Regions from separate parts of the Homo sapiens genome. Here all the other regions are linked to region 3. The links are contacts of gene promoters, found by promoter capture Hi-C in blood cells and fetal thymus (Javierre and others, 2016). All regions are on one chromosome and are shown on one strand. Each heading gives the region's core, a stretch centred on a gene start or on the middle of the fragment in contact. The rest is flanking DNA. Distances are from core to core; before and after follow the strand shown. Region 1 has its middle 1.5 kb from the start of CYTH4. Region 2 overlaps KCTD17 (potassium channel tetramerization domain containing 17). Region 3 holds the start of IL2RB-AS1 (IL2RB and C1QTNF6 antisense RNA 1).

Region 1 (2,875 bases), core at 376-2,875, 110 kb after region 3:
GGTGTCATCACAACGGACCTCACAGAGGAGGTGGTATTTGAGGTATGTCTTAGAGAATAAGACAGTAACAATAGCTGAACCACACAACCGTGACCATCCATCAGACAAAAGGGAAGTGTCAGATGCCAAACCGTGGCCTGGTCAAGACACATTTACTGGATCAGCCGCAAGATCAGGCAGCCTTCCCCAAGGCCATCCCAGGTTCAGTGGTTTACTAGGTGGACTCCCAGGACTCAGCTCATGGTCATACTTACGGCTATGATCTATGGCAGTGAAAGGACTCAAAGCAGAATCCGCAAAGGCGCCGTGGCGAAGTCCAGAGGAAACCAGGGGCAGCTTCCAAGAGTCTGCTCCCAAAAGAGTCACACGGGACACGCTCAATTCCTCCAGCAACAAGTCGTGAAAGCACCTGTGAGATGGGATGCTGCCAGGGACGCTAGGCAAATAGGTTAGGCCCAGTAAGCCACTCTCATCAGTTAGGGTGGTGGGAGCCCTCCCCAAATCCAAGCTCCCAGGTGCCAGCCAAGGGTCAACTTTGCAAGCATGACTTTCTAAAGATAGCAGTCTCCGGCCTGCAGTGTGAAGTCTTTCTGCACAGGGAATTATATATACCTTTCTCCATATTTCTAGGGGTTATTTTGTTTGTTTTGTTTTTTCTTTTGTTTTGTTTTTGGAGACGGAGTCTCACTCTGTTGCCAGGCTGGAGTGCAGTGGCGCGATCTCAGCTCACTGCAACCTCCGACTCTCTGGTTCAAGTGATTCTCCCGCTTCAGCCTCCCAAGTAGCTGGCATTATAGGCACCCGCCACCATGCCCAGCTAATTTTTGTATTTTTAGTATAGACGGGGTTTCACCACGTTGGCCAGGATGGTCTTGATCTCCTGACCTTGTGATCCACCCGCCTCGGCCTCCCAAAGTGCTGGGATTACAGGCATGAGCCACTATGCCCAGCCCACATTTCTAGTTTTAAAATGGCCAAGGGCATGGTTTGTGGTGCCTCAGGCCCAAAGCAGTTGAGAAAAATCTAGTTTACCATGGAAATAATTGTAACAAGTTTTCCAGAAAAGAACCATGAGTTATACAAGAACCCAGGTGGAGGCAGGGCAGGGGAGAAGCAGCGGGGTTCAAAAATCCTGAGCACACTAGACGGGGACTTAGTAGGCCTGGCTTCTGGGCCTGAATTGGCACTCACTCAAGTTCCAACTTGGTCAAGTGTTTCCCAGAAATAAGCCTCAGTTTTCTCTCCGAGGAAATGACAGCATTGGATTTCTTCTGTATCAGCAAGCTTTGGCTGCATAACAAAGCATCCCAGAAGTTGGTGGCTTAAACCACAAAAATGTATTATTTCCCACAGTGCTATGGGTCAGCAGTTTGGGTGGGACTCCGCTTGATGGTTCTTCTTCTGGTGTCCCCTGGCCTCACTGATGAGGCAGCAACCAGGGGACAGCCAAGACAGCCCAGCCTATCTCCTTGTGGTCCTCCGTCTTCCAACAGGCTAGCCCAGGCTTGTTCTCATGGTAGCCAGGCAGGGGGCTGAGAGCAAGAGCAGGAGCTGCAAGGCCTTTTAAAGCTCAGCCTCGAACATCACGGCACATCATTTCTGCCACGTGCTATTGGTCAAAGAGATGCCCAAGGCCAGCTCAGCTTCCAAGGAAGGAGAAATGGACTTCGCCCCTTGACAGCAGAAGCGGCGGCATAGTGAAAAGGAGGTGAACTTGTAGCTAGCTTTCACATCGGCCGTGATCTCTTCCATGTTCCCTTCATTCATTCATTCATTCATTCATTTGTTCATTCATTCCACACTTGCACACCCTCTATGTCCCCAGCATTTTACCACACACCAGAACACAAAAGGTAACCTTGCCCTCATGGGGCCTGGAGAGTAATGGGGAAACAGATGAATAACTCTGCATGTGTCCTGAAGTTATAGGGAATTCACATTTAATTTATACCTGTTTCTTTACAGCAAAGCTTTTTGCAGAAAGGATTTGAACCAACCTGCCAGAAAAGGCACAAGGAATAACATGATACATTTTAACCAAAGAAGATAATTAAAATCAAAGGAGAAAGTGTTTATTGAGCACCTACTATGTCCCAAGCATCTCCGACACATCCTCTCACTCCATGGTTTCCATATCCCCGAGTTAGTGTTATTCCCCTTTCAGAGATAAGCAAAGCGAGGCTGACTAGCCCTAGCTGAGAGTCAAACAGCTGAGTCAGGCCCCAAAGTTCACATGACATCATAGAATAGCTGTCGATGAGCTTTGGATTTGACGATGAGTTTCCCAGCAGCCTGGGGGAGAAGGAAAGTGGAACATATTACCCGATTGTTCACTAGACAAGAAAAAGCCAGATATTTCTTTGAAGGGAAGCAAAGCCCTTCCTAGCAGTGAATTCATTTGTCTCTTCTCAAGTGGGAGTTGGAAGAGAGCTTGTGGGGTGGAACACAGGGGGCCCTGCTAGGACTGTCCAAGTTGGGCGCTCCTATGGCATATATGTGAGGAGGCTGCCACGTGAATGCCCATGGTCCCCTGGAAAATGTTCGTCCTCAGTGAACATCGCCCTCGGTGTCTGTGCATGTGTACGTGTGTATGTGCATATGTGTCTGTGTGTTTCTTTCTGTCTCACTGTCTTTCTCTTTTTTATCTGGCCCTCCCCTCACTTCATCTGTTTGTTTGTTTGTTTGTTTGTTTGTTTCCACCTCTGTCCCTCCCTGGCAAAAGTCCCTGCTGCTCAAAACTCTGCCAGTTTTTAGGAAGTGCTGTTTTGTCAAAAGCCTGCACACGAGACCCCCGTGGGCCAGGACTGACTTCCTCCCCACACAGGGCTGGGCGGGGCAAGCAGGAAGGAGCCTGTTACAGTCAAGGTGACGCATC
Region 2 (2,798 bases), core at 76-2,575, 110 kb before region 3:
AGTGACCTAACCCCTCTGTGTCTGCATGCCCCCATCTGTGAAATGGGGGACCATAGCACCCACCTCACCGAGCTGTCATGAGGATAAAAGGAGTTAATAGTGCAGCATGGAGCTCAGTTCCTGGCCGGAGGATGTGGGATGCAGTGCTAGCTGTCTGTCACCTGCAGGGCTCCGCCCAGGGCACTGGGGATAATTCTCGTAATCAGGCAGCTGCACTCCCTGACCTCCTGCTCTGTGTTTGGTCCTGTGTGGGCACCGGGGACAGAGGGCAGATCAGAAATGTGAGCCCCATCTTAGCCATTTCAGGCTGCAATCATGAAGTAACATAGATTGGGTGGCTTATGAAAATCAGAAATTTATTTCTCTTGGTCCTAGAGGCTAGAAACCCGAGATCGGGGCACTGTGGCAGGTTCTGGTGAGGACTTTCTTCCGGATTGCAGACTGCTGACTTCTCGTTGTGTCCTCACATGGCAGAAAGAGAGGGAGCTAGCCCTCGCCCGCCCCTTCTCGAGAGCTTGTTTGGAGGTTCTAGCAGGGGAGCGCAGCTACTCACATACCCTTGACCAAAGTCCGGTCCTCCTCTATCGGGGGTGGTCGCCCCCTTCGATGGAGCTCACAGCTTCGGGAGGGACACACCTGGAGCAGTGAGGGAGGAAGGGGACACACATCTAGCCAGCCAGATCAGCTAAATCAACCCTGGTGATCAGTGGAGTGACAGATGTCCCCGCCAGATCGCCCTCACATCCAATTAGCCTTTCTTATAAGAAGACTGATCCTACCCTGGGGACTCTACCCCCATGATCTCATTACCTCCCCTCCTAATCCCATCACAGTTTTCAGCAGGTGGATTTTTGGGGAACACACACATTCTGCTCATAATGAGCTCTGTCCCCAGGGAGCCCAGAGGCCAGTCAAGGAAAGGGCCCAAAGGTCCCCTGCCTTCTGGGAGCCTAGGGGAGTCGAAACAGCTGCAAGCTCATCGCTTCACTGGTGGGCTGACTTCTTCATCTCCCAGATTAACTTAACTGTAAGATGGGGACAGTAATGCCTGCTCTCCTCATATCCCTGGACTTGTGATGAGCTCGTGCAGGGTGTTGCAAACTGTAAGGTGAGGCAGTTGGGGGAATGCATGGACACAAGGGTATGTGCTTACAGTGGGGAGACATGGGCTCTGGAGTCTGCAGCGCTTGAGTTCCCTCTGGCACTTACCAGCTGTGTGACCTTGGACAAGCTGCTTCTCTTTGGGAGCCTCAGTTTTCCCAGTTGTTCAATGCAGATGATGAAAGTACCTCCTTCTAGTTCTGAGAATTCAAAAATGTAATGCACCTGGCACTTAGAATGTGCTTAATAAATAGGAGCACATAATCAGGGGTCAGGCAAGGCCCTGCTCATGGTGACATTCTGGGGATCAGTCCCAATGACCCTGCTGTCTCTTGATAGCCCTAAAGCTGCCCCAGACGGTGGCCTGGCAGGTACCCCTGGGTCACCGCACTCAGCACAGCAGAGCTGTGTGGCAGCCCCTCAGCCCCTTCCACAGGAAGTGTGGGATCCAAGGAAAGAAATGCTCCCTCTTACTTGACCCCTGAACTCACAGACACTCAGCTCACCCTCAGGGCGGGTGATCAGAGCGAGAGGTGGGTTTCGGGGTGGAGGGAACAAGAGGAGAATGGGGCATGGAGGCAGAAGGAGTGACCTGGGATCTGTTCTGTCTGTGCCAGGGGTCCTGGAGGAAGCCGAGTTCTACAACATCGGCCCGCTGATCCGCATCATCAAAGACCGGATGGAAGAGAAGGACTACACGGTCACCCAGGTCGGGAGCAGGGGCAGCACACACGGCCAGGGCAGGGGCCAGTGGGGAGAGAGAGGCTGAGAGACGGGGCGGGAAGCAGAGGAGGTTGGGAGAGACAGGACCAGTGTTTGTCATGGGGAGGCCGAGCTGGCCTGTAAGGAGAGGCATGGTTGGGCTGACAGGCTGCCCAGCACAGCCCCAGACTCGGAGACGGACACTGGGGTTCAGTCCCTGTCTCAGCCCCATTTGCTGTGTGTTGGGCCAGGCTCGCCCTCTCCGGACCTTGATTTTCTCTTATGGGATAGAGAGGGGTGGGAATGGCACACCCATCCCTTCCTCATAGGCAGAAGGGGGTCAGTGTGGAGGTACAGGGTGCCCTGCAGAGGAAAATGCAGGATTAGCAAATTGTGCCTTTTGTGGCATCAGATGGTCGCCTGGTGGGCTCGGCACAGGCTGTTGGGGCTGGCGTTTGTGACCTTGGAGCCTGGGCCTCCCTGGCCAGTCTGCAGGAGGAGGGAAAGAGATTTTCCGCCTACTCTGGGGGATGTGTGAGGGTTGGGGGACAGGTAGTGAGGAACCATTTCTCAGGCCCAGGGGATTAAAGAGGGGAGGCTCCGTGTCTCCTTGAGGGCCTGACTCCTTGAGGGTGACCCAGAATGTTCCCTAAGCCCCACCCATGTTCTTTCTTGAATTACCCGTGTTCCGGTTCTGTCTCCTTCACCCTTGAGCTGGGTGACCTTGGGCAAGTAACTGGACCTCTCTGAGCCTCAATGGAAAGTCCCGTAATGCCTAGGATTCTTGGAAGGATTAAGTGAGATGGTGCCTGGTAAATGCCTGGTGAGGAGCAGGTGCTCAGAGCATGGCTGCCTCCCCCCAACCACCTCTTCTTTCTCTCCCTCTCTTCTTCTTTGGGTATGTTGCGGGGGTGGTGGCAGCAGGTGCTCATGCCCCTCCTGGGGTGCCTGGTGCTCCCACAGGTGCCCTCTATGTGACCCTTCTGCCCACAGGT
Region 3 (2,876 bases), core at 371-2,870:
AAATAACTCGCCCAGGGCCGCACACAGGTAGGTGATAAGTGTCAGAGATGGGATGTGGGCCTGGGCCATCTGGCTCCTAAGCACATGCTCCTAACTACCAGGCTGCCGCCACCTTTGGAAGAAGAGAGCCATGAGAATTTGAGCTATGGCTGGCCGCATCTGTGCCTGCTCTGGCCGTGTGCCTCTGGCCTTCCAGAACCCACTCTGTCCTTCCTAATGTTTCTCTGACCGTGGCCTCTCCAGGGAGAGTCTGAATCATGATTTTCCCAGGCATGGAAGGTAGGAACACCTGCCAGTCAGCATGGAGCGTTTGTCAAGCGTCTGTATTATCCTGGCTCAGGGCTGGGAGTTATAGCAGCCACAAAAGATGCCCAAGACTCCACCCAGCCCTCAAGGAGCCCAGAGTTTAGCTGCAGGGACAGGAAATAGGCATGGGAACGAATGCAATATAATCACAGCTAAAGTTTGTATGAGATGTGCAGATGCTCCTGGGCAGCTGCCTCTTCAGGGCAGGCTTCATGGAGAAGAGGGCTTTTTTTAAAAATTTAATTTAATTTAATTTAATTTAATTTTATTATTGTTTGTGGGGTTGGGGGAGGAGGGGAGAAGAGGGCTTTGAGCCAGGCCTACCCAGGGCAAGTGCCAGAAGGACAGAGGCGGGGAGGACACAGGTGCAGACCGGCCTAAAGCAGACACTTGGAGCTGAAAACATCCTGAATCCAACCGTCCACAACTCCCCTCTACAGCATCTCCTCAAGAGGGCCAGACTCCCCTGAATTCTCCCTACGGCAAGGAAGTCATTCCTCGCCAGGGGAGCGAGATCATGGCCTGTCTGGTGTGCACGTGTGTGTGTCTTTGCCACAGGTGTGTTCTTTCCAGAACTCCTGTGAACAGGTGGGCCTCCTTTGTGCAAACCTGAGCCATGCACATCCAGCTCAGCTGATAGCTGGGCCAGGAGAGGTGACCTCACCGCCCATGCTCAAGGTCTCTCTGTTGCACTGGACAGGGCCCCTCCAGCCTTAGGCCCTTGAAGTCCTGGCTCCTTGGAAATGCCCCTGCTACTGGGGGGACCCTCAACTGCACCAAAGGACCGCAATGGAAAGGGGGCACTCAGCGCCAGAGCCTCCCCGCCCCCCCACCTCCTGCCGAGAGGAAGCCCAAAACTGGCACATCCACACACACAGCCACACGCCCCCTTTGAAGGCACTGCACCGCTGCGTGTGTTGTACACGGAGCCTGCGCTTCCTGGGCCAGAAGTGAAGCTAAGATGCACTCCACGCATTCAACCGTTGAACCCTCATTGCAGCCACCAGAGTTCTGTGCCACCCCTGCTCCGTTCCCGCGGTGGAGGGAGGACGCCTAGGCCTTGGGAGGGATCGGGAGCGCGTAGAGTGACACCCTGGGCTCCACATCCACGACACCTTCTCCCCCATCTGGACTGCCCAACTACTTCATGCCTACCTCGGGACTTTGCATGCAAAAGGCGCTCAATCATCCCTTCAAGAATAATTGAGTTAGAAAACAGCAGGGCACAATGACAGGTGGGCCCAGAAGTTGCCACCAGAGGGCAGTGCGCGCACCTCCCCAGCCTCCTCGAGACTTGTGCTGCAGGAGGGAGGTGAAGTCGCGGCCAGGAGCGTGACCACGCTGGACCGTGTCTGCTGCCTCCCCGGGAGTCGCAAGTGCCCACAGGACAAGCAGGGGAAGCAAACTGGGCCCCTGGCTTCTGGGAAGACAGCATGAGGGCAGACCAAGGAAAGGCAGCCGAGACCAGCAGACCTGCAAGGGATCTCGGAGGCTCTCAGGCCCAGCTGCTTGCTGAATAGGTAATGATGCATCTGGGCCCAGAGAGAGGCAGCTCTCAGCCTTAGGTCACACAGCAGGGCAGGAGTGTGAACTCTGGCCTCCAGCCTCCGAGGTCCCCTCATCCCACCTAACCCCCAGACTCAGAGAAGGACACTCCACCCAAGCAATTTCTCACCTTCCCCTTAATTGGTACAGATCAGAAACGGGAGCACCTCCTTCTCCTGGCCCCCACGTTTAGGGTTCCCAGGACAGCCTCCGACCCACCCTCTGCCCCTCCTGTATCCCTTTCCTCGGCCCTGGGTGACAGCACCCCTGCCCAGACCAGCTCTGACTGCCTCCAAGTGCCAAGCGCTCACAGTCCTCTACCCCCAGCCCCAGCCGGCACCCTCAGTCTCGTCCCACCATCTCTCTGCCTCCTGAGTCCCTCCCTGAGTCCCATGCCCTCTGCCCCAGCGACTGCCCTTGTAAAGTGAAAATCCGACCCCACCCAACATTTCCTGCTGCACTTATGCAGTATCCAGGCCTCCTCGCCATGGAAAGCCCAGGCCTGCGGCCTCTCTGGCTTCTTCTCTCCCTTGCCCCACTGCCCCTGGCTGTCTGGCAGTTCCTGGAAGTCTCCAAGCTCTTCCCTGCCTCGAGCCCCTGCCCACGTTCTCTCTGCCCCAGGCCTCAGCCTGCGGTCACTTTCTCAGGGCAGCTTTCCCAGCACCCCGTGCATCTAAAGTGGATGCTGCCCTGCCCATCACTGGATCAGGTGCTCATATTCCTAATTGACTGGGCATAGGTGGGAGGATTTGCCTGGTGTCTGTCTTCCTGGCTGGACTGCGGTGCCTCAAGGCCACAGGTGAAGTGCATGGAGTCCCACAGCTTCTCTGAGCCTAAAGCTTTGTGTGACAAATGCATTCAAACTGCATTTATTGAAAGATGGGAAGCAAGGGAGGAAGGGAAGGGGTGCGGGAGGGAGGGAGGACAATCTTGGTGTTGGGCTGAGGTGGCGTCTGTCCCCTTTGCATGAGTTCAGTAAGGATTTACTGAGCACCTGCTGGCAGCAGCATGCTGGGCACTGTGGG

Evidence for each region. Contacts are between HindIII fragments. The CHiCAGO score rates a contact against its expected background, and 5 or more counts as called.
Region 1: a fragment that was not itself captured here is called in contact with the fragment with the promoter of IL2RB-AS1 in region 3 in 1 of 17 cell types (total CD8 T cells); the score reaches 5.3 in total CD8 T cells.
Region 2: a contact is called between a fragment that was not itself captured here and the fragment with the promoter of IL2RB-AS1 in region 3, in 8 of 17 cell types (activated CD4 T cells, total CD8 T cells, M1 macrophages and 5 more). The highest score is 10.4, in activated CD4 T cells.

The regions. Positions count from the first base shown.
Region 1 is chr22:37,279,617-37,282,491 of GRCh38, forward strand. No RefSeq gene overlaps it. Among named protein-coding and RNA genes, the nearest start is that of CYTH4, 1.5 kb to the right of the region's middle. RefSeq lists an enhancer at 2,651-2,700. The HindIII fragment of the contact is 686 bases long and covers 1,283-1,968 here.
Region 2 is chr22:37,054,602-37,057,399 of GRCh38, forward strand. It overlaps KCTD17 (potassium channel tetramerization domain containing 17), which reads left to right. Exons shown (of 9, transcript NM_001282684.2): 3 at 1,719-1,810; 4 at 2,797-2,798. It also overlaps the pseudogene RN7SKP214. Among named protein-coding and RNA genes, the nearest start is that of KCTD17, 4.3 kb to the left of the region's middle. The HindIII fragment of the contact is 5,049 bases long and covers 1-2,798 here.
Region 3 is chr22:37,165,139-37,168,014 of GRCh38, forward strand. IL2RB-AS1 (IL2RB and C1QTNF6 antisense RNA 1) reads left to right here and starts at 1,621. Exons shown (of 2, transcript NR_199008.1): 1 at 1,621-1,826. It also overlaps a transcript of IL2RB not described here. RefSeq lists an enhancer at 1,792-1,841. The HindIII fragment of the contact is 5,870 bases long and covers 1-2,688 here.